Regions from separate parts of the Homo sapiens genome. Here region 2 is linked to region 1. The links are contacts of gene promoters, found by promoter capture Hi-C in blood cells and fetal thymus (Javierre and others, 2016). All regions are on one chromosome and are shown on one strand. Each heading gives the region's core, a stretch centred on a gene start or on the middle of the fragment in contact. The rest is flanking DNA. Distances are from core to core; before and after follow the strand shown. Region 1 holds the start of SLIT3 (slit guidance ligand 3). Region 2 overlaps LOC105377714 (a long non-coding RNA gene).

The links. The method cuts DNA at HindIII sites, captures the fragments that hold promoters and counts their contacts. A CHiCAGO score of 5 or more calls a contact.
Region 2: a contact is called between a fragment that was not itself captured here and the fragment with the promoter of SLIT3 in region 1, in 3 of 17 cell types (M0 macrophages, M1 macrophages and M2 macrophages). The highest score is 7.1, in M0 macrophages.

Annotation. Positions count from the first base shown.
Region 1 is chr5:169,298,182-169,304,627 of GRCh38, forward strand. It overlaps SLIT3 (slit guidance ligand 3), which reads right to left and starts at 2,958. Exons shown (of 36, transcript NM_003062.4): 1 at 2,332-2,958. The coding sequence starts at 2,528. The HindIII fragment of the contact is 7,800 bases long and covers 1-4,604 here.
Region 2 is chr5:169,541,191-169,547,984 of GRCh38, forward strand. All of the region lies in intron 2 of LOC105377714 (a long non-coding RNA gene), which reads right to left. The region is part of intron 3 of LOC105377715 (a long non-coding RNA gene); the gene reads left to right. Among named protein-coding and RNA genes, the nearest start is that of SPDL1, 39 kb to the right of the region's middle. The HindIII fragment of the contact is 1,434 bases long and covers 4,251-5,684 here.

The sequences.
Region 1 (6,446 bases), core at 1,708-4,207:
CCCCCATGCACCCTGGCCAAAGTGGCACCAGTGACCACAACTGAGGCAGAAGAGACCAGAGACATCAAAGAAGCTCCTGCTCTGCCACTGCCTATTAACGACTGCAGCAGGGGGCCTCTGGGAATGACCAGGACTCCAGTCTCTGTCCTGTTTCTCCAGTTCTAGAGCTGATGGGTTGCCCTGAGCTGCACAGATCCCCTAAGGAAGATGACTCGGTGGCATGCTGGCATGGGTGCGGTTCCTGCAGCTCTGGAAAACTTCCTACACACCAGGAGGAGAGGGACTTACTCTTCTTGGTTTCCCAAACATGGAGCACGATTTTGAAGATGCGGAAGATGTAGTTGCGAGACCCCAAGCAGCAGACCTAACATCAAAGTGAGCTGAACATTTGCAGGGTATACCAGAAGCAGAAGCAACAGCAGCCTATTCTAAGATCCAAGCCCAGCCAGAACCCTCCCAAGACTGTCTGTTTATAGATCGTGGCCCAAACTGACCCTTGTTCCAAGGATGACCAGGAGAGTGATAACGGTTGTGGGCTTAGGAACCAGTCAGGCTTGGATCCAAACACTTCACTAGCTGCACGACCTTGAGTAAATGACAAGATGGCTTAACTGTGAAAGGGAGTAATAAGCATTGCCTATGTAACTAACAGGACTGTTGGAGTGATTCAATGAGATAATACATATACACAAATCAAGGCATGAAAAGCATTTATCAAACATTAGCTATAATTATTATTTCACTAACTCATGTGGCTAGCACTGGTGTGACGAGGAGGGGAACTTAGTTTACAAGTTATAGGTATCTAAAAATACCACTAAAACAAGTTTTTCACTCCTATGGACTAACTTAATGTCTGAATTAAGGTGTGAAAACCTGGATTCTAGCCCCTTTATTGCCGTCAACTTGCTGTGTTTTCTTGGGCAAGTCATTTTACACTTCCAAGCCTGGTTTTCGACATGTGTTAATAAAGATTCGGCTCTCACCCTTTAGGATTCTGTGGTTCAACCCAACAAAACAATCACTGCACTTGTGGAAAAACAAAAAAGTACTGAGCCAAAGGAAAAAGAGAGCACCAGGAATAAGGAAGACAGTTCTGCTGAGTCTCCACCCAGAGATGCACAAAGAAGTGGAAGAGAAGAGGAGGTGGGGTGATAGGAGGTGACTAGCAGGAATAACACACTCTAGGACAATGCTTGTCATCACTACTCTCTTCCAGCCTGAAGTCAAGAAAGCAGAGTGGAAGATCCAGGCGCCTACCCCTAAGGCACATGAGGAAGGGGAGAAGAGGGAGAGCAAGACACGGAGGGAATCTACCACACTAGAGCAAACCCTCACCCACTTCTCGGCTGGGTTCCCAGTAAGGCTTCCCACCCACTCCAGCGTTTCTCCCCCACTCCCTTACCCCACCCCAACTGCGGACTAAGAGGAGCCCACCCCGGAGTCCAAGTTTTGAATCTGGTCCGAGGATCAAAATGATAAATGTTTCCAAAACGTTGACATATGAAAAGTAAATATTTGGTTGCACAATTGGGGCTAAAACTAGGGTCAATCCACCCCATTCTCCAAGCGCCTCTCCATTCGCTGCCAAGCCCAGGATCTGAGGCTGAGTGCGGTTTGTAAGATTATAACGCTCGGTCTCATTTGAAGGGCTGTCAGCATTTCCATTCTCCGGCCCCTTCGTTCGGGGAGGCATTTATAACCGAGCCATAAAAAATTCACCCGGGGCTGCAACTTGGCATCTCCCAGACTGCGCTCCAGGCAGAGCGGGTTTTGCGAGCACCCACTCTGAATCTGTCCAGTTCCTCAGAAGTTAAACCTTCACCCACACTCTCAACTTTCCTTGCAAGGGCAGCCAGAGAGCGGCTGGCCCATTCTGATCTCCAAGCAGGTCAACAGTCTCGGGCCCTCTCTCCCGCCTCCGCGCCTTGACGGCCCATCATCCTATAGCTTTCTCCTTCGCCCGCCCCCCTTTTTAACGAGCGCAGACCCCTGACCCTCACCCTAAGACCTTGAGGCTGCAGTGCTCTTGCCTCCCCTCGCCTCTCCTCAGCTACTCCTTGGAAGCTGTCAGCGGGCCCTGCGTCTGGAACCCTCACCCCTGGAGAGGCACTGCTCTTTGCCCATCGCTGGGGGTTTCGAGACCTCTCTTTCCAGATCTGACCAAGCCTACAGACCCCCAGCTCGGAGAGTGAGGGATCGTATCCAGGAAGGGATGAGAATAGAGACTGCATCCAGGGAGGCCGAGGGGAAAGGACGGATCTGGCGCCTGGGGCCCCCTCGGTGGGACCCAGGTGGGTGGCCCGCGTGGGGTGGGGCAGGGGTACTCACAGGCGCTCAGCGTTGCGGGGGATGCCCCGAGGAACCGCGCGGAGGCCCAGCCCGTGGCAGTCCACGCTGGCAGCGGAGCAGGTACACTTGGTGGGGCAGGCGACGGCTGGAGGCCCACTCAGGACGCTCGCCAGCGCCAAGGCCAGCGCCAGGCGGGCGCGCACGGCGGCGCCGACCCCTGCCCACCCGGGGGCCATGGTGTGCAGGGCCCCGCTCCTGGAGGAGGCTGCCTCTGCGGGGCAAGACGCGTGGAGCCCGAGGAGGCGCGCGGGGAGCGCGGGCGGCCTGGGGAGCGGGCGGCGGAGTTAGCGCGGAGGAGGGGCGAGCTCGGTGCTCAGGCGCACGGGGCGCGGGCGGAGCGGGGCGCTCCGGGCGGCGGCGGCGGCAGCAACAGCAGCTCCATCGGCGGGGCCGGCGCTGCCCCGCTGCGCATCGCTGGGAGTGCCCAGGTGCGGAGCGCCCCCTGGCCCCGCTGGCCCGCGGGCCGGGTTGGGGACCTGGGGCGAGCGCAATGGGGCGTGGCGCCCGGGGAGGTCCGGCTTGGGGCTGGGCTGGGGAGCGCGGCGGCTGCGGCTGGGGCACGGGGCGGCCGGGTGAGCTGGCCGGCGCTCGCTCTCTCCATTCAGTGAGCACGGCAGACACCGGAGACGCGGGGCCCACCCCTCCGGCCCCCCCCCGACCAAGAAACGCCAACTCCGCCTCCCATTGGCTGCGCCGCGCGTCATGTCGACTAAGTTGGGAACTTTGCTGGAGCGACCGAGAGCCTGGAGGGAGGAGGCAGTAGAGGAGGGAGAGAGAAGGAACCAGGGAAGGAAAGGGGCTCGGCCAGCAGGGCCCCTGGAAAGAAACACTGAAACTCATTCACTGTTAAGATCCAAGGACGGATAAGGCTCCTGACACTTTTTTTTTTTTAATTTTTGCACTGAGCTGAGCACTCTACTCATATTCTTTACTTAAGTCCACGATCTTCCAAGGGGTCGTCTGAAAACAGCTCAGAGAAGTGAAGCGACTTGCTGGAGGTCGCACAGCTGCTAGGGACGCCAAACCATGGCAGTGTCGCCCACGAAGCCGCTTCCCTACCGCACCTAGTACTCATGGCAGAGATCCACAATTTTGCCTGAAGAGCCTTGGTTGACACCAATGTACTCCACAGCTACACACACACACACACCGTGGTCCATGTTGTTGAGGTCACTGCTGGCAAACCTTACCCGGAAACTTGCCCTGCTTTGCCCAGACCCAGCGCTTGGTGGACTGGTAAAAGTAGTGATGGCAGCGACTTGGACCCCTGGATTGACAATGCCTTGTTCCATCCTCGGGTTTCTGCTTCCTGACTGGGTGACTCTGGGCCAATCGTGTCATCTCTGAGCCTTCGTTTTCTCAAATCCGGGGCCACAGTCCTACCTGGCCTCACCTCCCTGGGTTGTTTGGAGCATCACAGAAGAGAACGTGTTTTTGCAAAAGTCATTCGCAGACGAGGCATCCCTTCTGTCCCCAGCGCCTTCTTTCTTCCAGCGCCCGCTTTAAATTGGCTAGGTCTGAGCTTTTCCAGATGCCAGTGGGGAGGGGCGTGTGCGTTAGAGGCTCCATAAATACTTGTAGGAATGATTTTGTTTGTTTGTTTGAAAGGAAAGGGCAGGAACTGGAGGAAGTATTGCCCAGATTTCCTTGAGGTCCCCTCACACTGAGAAGGCCTGAATGAGCCCTGCATATATATACACACACACTGGTGCCTACGTATTCACAGCCACGCACACACTCTCACATACTCAGGCTCACACACACCCATTTATACACCGGCAATCACACACACGTGTACATGCATGCTCGCACACACACTCACATAGTGACAACTATACTCCTGAGAGCGCTTCTCTTTTCTTTCATAAGAATACTATTCTGATTTCTTCTACCTCATTTTCCTTCAAGGAAACTTTCAACTACTTGACCACATCCTGTGAATATATAGTAGAGTTGTAGATTTTATTGTATTATACTTAGCAGATTTTCAAAGTCTTAGCTTTGGGCACCCACTTGCGCGCGCGTACACACAAACACACACATACGCACACTCACTCAAACACACACACTCGAGTCCCTTCATCATTCATAAACACATTAGGTGCAATTTACTGCTGTTATTCTTGGGAACGGCTTTCTGTACAGATGCTGTTGTTATCGCCCCCTGGTGGCTGGCGAGGGTCTATGCTCCGGTCTTCAGGGTGACTTCGGTATTTAAGAACTCTAAACATCCTTTTATCCCTTTGCTCTGAAGCTTTCCTCCAAACCTTGAACCAATTTAGTACCAGGACTGAGGCAGATGAGAGAACCGGGCAAGGGCCCAAGGGCACAAAGCGTCTCAGACTGTCTGGAGCAGAAAACAGTACGGTTTTCTTTGTTTTCCCAAATGCATGCTAGAGCATGTTTTGCAATCCCTTCGGGCTGGTCCTGGATCTGTGCTCTGAGCGCAGTGGGGGACTGCGTTTTCCATTTAAGCTGCTCAGGGGGGTTTCATGAGCCAGACTGTATCTTTAAGGGACTTTATAGGCATTCAAGTGTGACTTTTCCTGGGAGAAGCCCCTTAGAACAGATGGTGAGGATTTCCTTCAGAGTCAATCATCCCCAAGGAGGAGGCAAGTGGGAAATACAGGAGGGGCCCAGAACACCAGGATACACAGAATCATGGAGTGTTTGGGCTGGTACAGCCTTAGAAATCACCTAATCCAACATTTCTACAAGTGCCTTCTGATGACTACTGATTCCACATGTTTCATCATGGAGGAGAAAAAAGTCTCCTTGGGCAAAGACAGATTGAGAAATGCTACTCACCTTCACCCCTCTTGGAGAATTGCATCACAGATGAGTGTTTTTAAGTTCCTGAGAAGTCCTGCAGTAAGGAAACCTGTTTAAGGCTTATTTAACCCAGTTTCTCAGTATAGAGGACCACTTTTCATGTAAACTGCAAATTCTCTTGGAACATACTTTGAGAACCCAAATATAGTTCAACTCTTGTATTTTACGAACAAGGAAGCTGAGTTTCAGAGAAAGGCGGGCATTTATGTAGGGTCACCTAGCTAATTAGTGAAATAACCAGAGCCAGGACTCCGGGCTTCCAATGCTGAACATGTGGCTCTGTCCACTTCCTCAGCTGATTCTGGGGCATCTGCAGAAGGCGGTAGCCACCCCATGGAGCAATTACCCTCCTTGGAGAAGACTGGGTAAATCACTAGGAGGTCAGGCTATTGTTTAGAACTTTCTATGTCCAAGGGCCAGAGGTGGCTTTACACTCTGTGGTGTCATTTTTAGAGTTGCGTAAAAGTCCCTGGACACTTTTGAATTTTCCCCTTTACTTTTCCATAGGCTTTTCAAAAGCAAACTACTCGCCCATTCCTGCAGGAAACCCCATCTCAAACTTTCTCCTCAACCTGTGTTTCTCAAAAGCAAACTACTCACCCATTCCTGCAAGAAACCCCATCTCAAACTTTCTCGTCAACCTGTGTATATTTCCCTGTGTGAGATACTACCCTTCATGTGGCCACCACAGTCAGCGGAGGTTTTCTGTTTCCAACCAGCCAGACTAACCATTTGTGCTCATCGTTCTCCAATGAATTCTCCAGATCTACTCTCTGCCCACTGTCGGAGGCAGTTCTGTTCCTCAGAACAAACAAAAAACTTTACCTTATTGAATTTCCCCAAAAAATGACTTTTAAAGAAAGCCATGGATAGCACACAGAATCTACAGAAAAAAATGAAGATGGAGGCTTCAACAAAGACAAGACCCAAGGCAGGATCTAGGTGCCAAGCTCAAGATTTCCAAATTCCCAGGAGGGAGCAATTGATGGTCCTGACTTGAGTCACGTGATCACCCTTTTGGCCAGAGAAGACAAGAACTATGGGTGACAGTTTTATGGAGACTGCACTCAGTTGGGCAGGTAGGAGTCCTTCTCTCAAAGGAAAACCCAGAAGCTATTAGCTGAAAAGTGGGTGGGAGTATTGAGAAGTCAAAACAGCTCAAAGAATTTTCCCTCTCTCACACACCACAGCCATTTAATTCTTCAGTTCTGTTCATTCTTCCCCATGACCATCTCTTCAATGTATCCCCTCTTCATCTCTGG
Region 2 (6,794 bases), core at 3,718-6,217, 250 kb after region 1:
TATATAAGACAGCAAACTTAATTGATAAATGTGTGTACTCTCTGCCCAGCCAACTGGCTGTTCTCCCATCTCTCTTCCTCTCCTTGGGCCTTCCTATTCCCCGAGAAACAATAAAATTGAAATTAAGGCCAATTAATAACCCTACAATTGCCTCTAAGTGTTAAAGTGAAAGGGACAACTGATAATTGAAGGAAAGGAAGAGAAGATAATTGATGAAGGTGGCTATACTACACAACAGATTGTCAATGTATTAATAGCTGAAACAGCCTTTTATTGGAATAAGATGCCATCCAGGACTTTCATAGCCAGAAAGTAAAAGTCAATGCCTGGCTTCAAAACTTCAATGGACGGGATACTCTTTTGTCAGGGCCTAATGCAGGTGGTAACCGTAAGTTGAAGCCAATGCTCATTTGCCTTTCTGAAAATCCTAAGGCCCTTAAGAATGATGCTAAATTTACTCTGTCTGAGCCCTAGAAATGGAACAATAAAGCCTGGATGAAAGTACATCTGTTTACCAGTATGATTTACTGAATTTTTTTCCTTCTTTTTTTGAGACAGGGTCTCATTATGTTGCCCAGACTGGTCTTGAATGCCTGGGCTCAAGTGGTTTTTCTGCCTCAGCCTCCAGAGTACCTGGGATTATACACATGCACCACCACATCCAGCAGTTTACTGAATATTTTAAGCCCATTGTTGAGACCTGCTGCAAAAAAAAAAAAAAATTGCTTTCAAGGTATTACTGATCATTGACAATGCACCTAGTCATCCAAGAATTCTGATGGAGATGTACAATGTGATTAATGTTATTTTCATGCCTGATATCACAACATCATTCTGCAGCCCATGGATCAAGGAATAATTTTGACTTTCAAGTCTTATTATCTAAGAAATACATTTTGTAGGCCAGGCACAGTGGCTCAAGCTTGTAATCCCAGCACTTTGGGAGGCTGAGGCAGGTGGATCACGAGGTCAAGAGTTCAAGACCAGCCTGAACAACATGGTGAAGCCCCATCTCTACTAAAAATACAAAAATCAGCTGGGTGTGGTGACATACACCTGTAATCCCAGCTACTCAGGAGGCTGAGGCAGGGGGATCACTTGAACCCAGGAGGCAGAGGTTGCAGTGAGCTGAGATTGTGGCATTACACTCCAGCCTGGGCAACAGAGTGAGACTCCATCTCAGAAAAAAAAAAAAGAAAGAAATACAATTTGTAGGGCTAAAAATGCCATAGATAGTGATTCCTCTGATGAATCTGGACAAAATCAATTGAAAACCTCTGAAAAGGATTCACCATTCTAGATGCCATTAAGAACATTCATAATTCATGAAAGGAGGTCAAAATATTAACATTAACAGGAATTTAGAAGAAATTTATTCCAACACTCATGATGACTTTGAGGGGTTCAAGACTTCAGTGGAGGAAGTAACTGCAAACGTGGTGGAAATAGCAAGAGAACTAGAAGTGCAGCCTGAAGATGTGACTGAATTGCTGCAATCTCATGATGAAACTTGAACAAATGAGAGTTGTTTCTTATGGATGAGCAAAGTGGTTTTTTGAGATGGAATCTACTCCTGGTGAAGATGCTGTGAGCATTGTTGAAATGACAACAAATGATTTAGAATATTACATGAACTTAGTTGATAACGCAGTGGCAGCATTTGAGAGAATTGACTCCAATTTTGAAAGTTTACTCTGGTCAAAATGCTGTCAAATAGTATTGCATACTACAGAGAAAACTTTCATGAAAAGAAGCAAACTTCATTGTTATCCTAAGTAATTGCCTCAGTCACCCCAACCTTCAGCAACAACAACCTTAATTAGTCAGCAGCTGCCAACATCCAGGCCAGACCCTCCACCAGCAGAAAAAGATTATGACTCAGTAAAGGCTTGGATGATCGTTAGCATTTTTTAGCAATAAAGTATTTTTTAATGAAGTACATTGTCTTTTTGGACATAATGCTATTGCATACTTAATAGACTACATTATAGTGTAAGCATAACTTTTATTAGCATTGGGAAATCAAAAAATTCACGTGATATGCTGTATTATGATATTTGTTTTATTGGAGTGGTCTGTAACCAAACCTGCAAAATCTTTGCGTTATTCTCGTGTATGTAGTAGTGTGGTGGTTTGAAGTAGGGGGAATTTCTACTCTAGGAGCTCTCTGAACTCTCTCCCTGATGGGTAGGAGGTTATTTCCAACATTCATTAGTCCTTTCTTTATTGGGTAAAGTTATTAACAATCTGAGAGCACGATGATTTCTCTTTTTTTACCCTTTCTCCCCTGACAAGGCTGTTCTGCATACCAAAGATTTCTTCTGAGAGCGGTAATTAGAAAATATATTTTGGCTAGAGATTGCAGCATTGTTCTCCAATCAGTTTTATCAGTAATAATGCTGACATCTTGATCTCCATCTGTCTTACTCCTGTGTCATTTCTTAATTCATAATGAACAAAGAGGAGAAGGAGGATGTTGTTATTAATTGGCTGCCTCAAGCTCCAAGAGACTGCCAGCATTTAAACATTGGGAAATTTCATATAAAGATCTAGATTTCTGACATGTTAAAAAATGGATTATTTGGCAGGGCTGGGACATATCTGCACATGGTATCAATTGGGCTGAAGCTGAGTAATGGCTGTCACCTTTATATGGGACATGAATTCTCCTGTTTGCCATAGTCTCCACCACTCCATATTACCTTACACCTAGTCATTTAATTTAGCCGTCTTGTCTCGGCATTTAAGTTTGCAATTCCTACTCTAATCATATACATGTCCCTGTTTAGAAAATAGATTTTTTTCTACATTAGTGAAATCCTGATTATTGAATAGAATGGTTAGTGAAACGTTTGAAAACCATTGGTATGGAAGATCTCGTATCTGTAAGTCTCACTGCGAAGCTACTGTTCTGGCATTCTGGTTCCTGATTCAGAGGAGCTACACATCTCTGTTGTTTCATCCCACTGCACCCTCAATGCAACATAGAACTACATCAACTATTTTTTTTCTACTTTCAGGTGAGACTGCACCTGTCAGCTCAGAAAAAAAAAAAAAACTATTTAAAGCCCTATAGTTAAGAAAATTCCCCATATATAGTTTATATTTTGTGTCCAGGCATTGTAGATTGTATCTTTCTGGCCAAAGTAGAGAATTGGAAAAATTATTGAACTAGTTTAAGCAAAACACATGTCAGATGACCCAGGTAATTTCCAGAAAAGCCAATGTTTTCTCTGAATTAGAGTACTCGGACAATTGCCTCAACCATGTGTATTAGTTAGGTCATGGAGACTGAAACTGTGTTTTCACAACTAAAATGACTACAGTTGAACCAGCCATGGAGGCCTGTCTCAAAAACAGAATTTTGCTGCATCACTGTGGATCAAACGACCCTTAACACAATCAGTTGTGGGGATAGTAAAGCATATTAATTTCATTGTCCTAAAGCAATTTAACCATATTACATAGATATGACTAACATTAAACTTTTTCTCCCAGTTTCATTTTATAAGATAGCAAAATGACTAATCAACCAATTGTCTAACCCAAATGATAACAACAGCTGACTTGACATTTTTATTTAATTGATGGCAAATCTGCAATTCTTTTAGATAGTTATATTCTAGGTGCTGCAAGCTAAGATTTAGCCTTCTTAATTATTTTTTGCTTTTTTTTTTTATAACCTCACATTTGCCTCCTTCACACACCCTGCTTAGATGACTTTCAAATAAAGCTAAACTCCCCCATTGGATTGCTGTCTATGGGCTCTTGCCCATGTCTTTTCTGTCTGAAAATGAAGTCTCTCTTCTCGCTTACCTTCTGAAAATCTAATATTGACCTTTTTTGTAAGGTGAGGCATCCCCTAATCATACCTGGAATCCTGGCCACCACAATATCATTCACTTCAGAAAATAAATACAAACTAAATATGACTCCAGATTTAAATGCAGAAACTTGAATAAGCACCACAGATTGGAGTATTTGGCTTTATTTCTTGCTGTGAGTCAGAGCCAGGAGGTTCCCATTAAGGTGTATATGAATTATATTACTCCATGCTGAAGTTTGTCTATAACGTAATGTTGTAAGGCAGCCAAGTTCTTCCAGCAATCTCATGGACCAATATTCAAAACATATCAGTATCTCATTAGATCCTTCATTTTACAAAAAAAAAAAAAGCTTTGCATTCTACTTAGCAAGCTATAGTTACATAGATATTTTGTTTTAGGGAAAAGTAAAATCCGTTTTAAATAAGCTTATTACTTCCATTGTATTGGTACCTATCAGGTTGTCACATTCATCTGGAACGAGTTGCCATGAAAAGAGGAAATAAATGCATAGAATTATGGATGGAGTGTACTTTGATATAGTTCAAAGAAATAGGAGGGGCATTTTCAGGGAAAATTTGTTCTACATCCCCATTACTGTCCTAAACCAGCAAAAAATTCCTTAAGCTAAGTCACATGGCAGGACAAAAACTGTTCAAATAAGCTCAAACCATGAGGAAAAAGGGCAACAAGTATTTTCTCTTCAGCTTCAAACTTCTTTCTTTTCTTCTTGCTCCTCTCTTTTAAATGAATCCTTAAGAATTTTAGGCAAATATATATTTTAAAAAGTGCTGAATTCCAAAATATTTAATAATGGAAGAAAAGAGTTGACTGCTAATCCCCTCCCACATCTACTCCTTATTCTTCAAAAGCCACTTCAAATGAGAACTTGTGAAGACAGCCTCATCAGTAAGTCATCTCTCACCCTAGTGAGTCACCACCTTCAGAGGTGGATGACCTGGTAAGATGAAACATACTGAGATTCAAAAGCTCCCATGGACTGATGGTCCCAGCACTATAGCTGGAAGGTCCCTTTTCTTGCCTTTCTTATGCTGGTGTTCTATGCTAAAAAGAGAGTGATTATTTCATCAACTCCAGAAGCGAGACATGAAGAATTAGGGCTGATAGAACTTGGAACTAAGGAATATAATCACGTTTTCTAGGAAGAGGAAAGGAAATAAACACACTGAAAAAGAAACCCAGCACAAAACAAAAAATTAACACGAATGTATTAAACCTTTAAAGAGTGTATTATTGAGAGTCCTTGAAGAAGTAAACCTGTATTCTCCATGGCCATTGAGAAAAATAAAATAAAATGGCATTGACATATACCTGGAGAAGACAAGTTATATATTAAGCAACGGTTCATGATCAGGCAAGCATCTTCTTCCAAATAGGTCTTTAAAATTGAAATAATGATCATTTCTTGCTCTGAGCAAGCCAGTGAATGAAGTCTGTAGCAGAACCAGTGCATCATGTTTTCCTCCTCTTCCAACCTATTTCGTAAACTCTCACTACTAACTGGTGACAAATGGGTTGGTCCTTGTGTGTTTTGCTCCCATCAAATGTTGCCATGCATTTTCTGTTTGCACATGCCTTATGTCTTCTACTAGTTGGAGAGCTTTTGAAGGAAATAACTCTGGTCTTGCTCATCTTTGCAAGAGTATGCTATGGAAACATCGTTATTAAAGTTTCAGTTTATAAAGCAATATAAGGCAAAAGTCTTATCTGGCCAAATCATCCTTGGAAATTTCTTAGAAAGGGGCAATTTGACAACCATGGGTCATTAAGTCCAACATGGCCAGTTTTCTCTCAGTGCTGGAACAGGCCAGTGTATCATTAAATCCTTTATTTTTATGAAGCTTTACATTCTACTGGTTTTGGTTGACAACCAGTTGGCTGGTGAGTAGGCTTATATTGTTTGAAAATATAAATATAAACATGAGTGTTACGAGATGTCTCAACCATGAAAGGTACACAAAGTGTGATACTGGATAAGAAAAGAGAACATTGCTGTCTCTCATCTCATGCTTTTTTTTTTTTCTTTTTCTTTTGAGATGGAGTCTCACTCTGTTGCCCAGGCTGGATACAGTGCAGTGGCGCGATCTTGGCTCACTGCAACTTCCGCCTTCTGGGTTCCAGCAATTCTCCTGCCTGTCTCCCTAGTAGCTGGGACTACAGGTGCATGCCACCACACCTGGCTAATTTTTGTATTTTTAGTAGAGATAGGGTTTCACCATGTTGGCCAGGCTCGTCTCAAACTCCTGACCTCAACTGATCCACCTGCCTCAGCCTCCCAAAGTGCTGAGGTTACAGGCGTGTTCCTGGCCTCTCATCTCATTCTTACTGCAGTCAGGATCCCATCAGGAAAACAGAAACAGAAATCATGCCAAGTGTTTCAAACAGAGGTGATTTAATATAGGAGATCAGTTATACAGAGTCTGGAGGGCTGAAAGAGAAAAAGAAAAAAAAACAAACAAAAAATGGTGTTCAGGTACCTCTGGTATTTGTAGTATAGAAAGCAGCTAGGATTCTTAGGGCTGGAAGATTAAAAAAGAGTAAATAGTGTTACCAGGACACCATTTCTTGGGGGAAGGGTCTCCACAGAGCAGATTTTCCAACCACCAATGTGTCACTGCACAGCTGGCTCAGCAACCTCTGAGGAGATGTCACGTGATTGCTACTTGGACTCCAGTGGTGAGTGCTAAGAGGGAACGTGGCAGTTCCTACTGGTACCTCTGAAGGAGCCACTGTGGAACTAATGCTGGAAATGCTAAAATAAGCTGGAGTCCTACTTGAGTGCTACTGATGGAAGGACTTCGACCAGAACTGAAAACAGAAAGAGCATCCTTCTACCCTCCTATCACCCTCTGATTTCCTGCCAGTGCCTCCAGTCGGCAGAACCTAACCAGAAGCTAGATAGCAAAAAAGTCTGGGAAATGCAGTCTGCAGATTCCTGCCTCCAGTGTC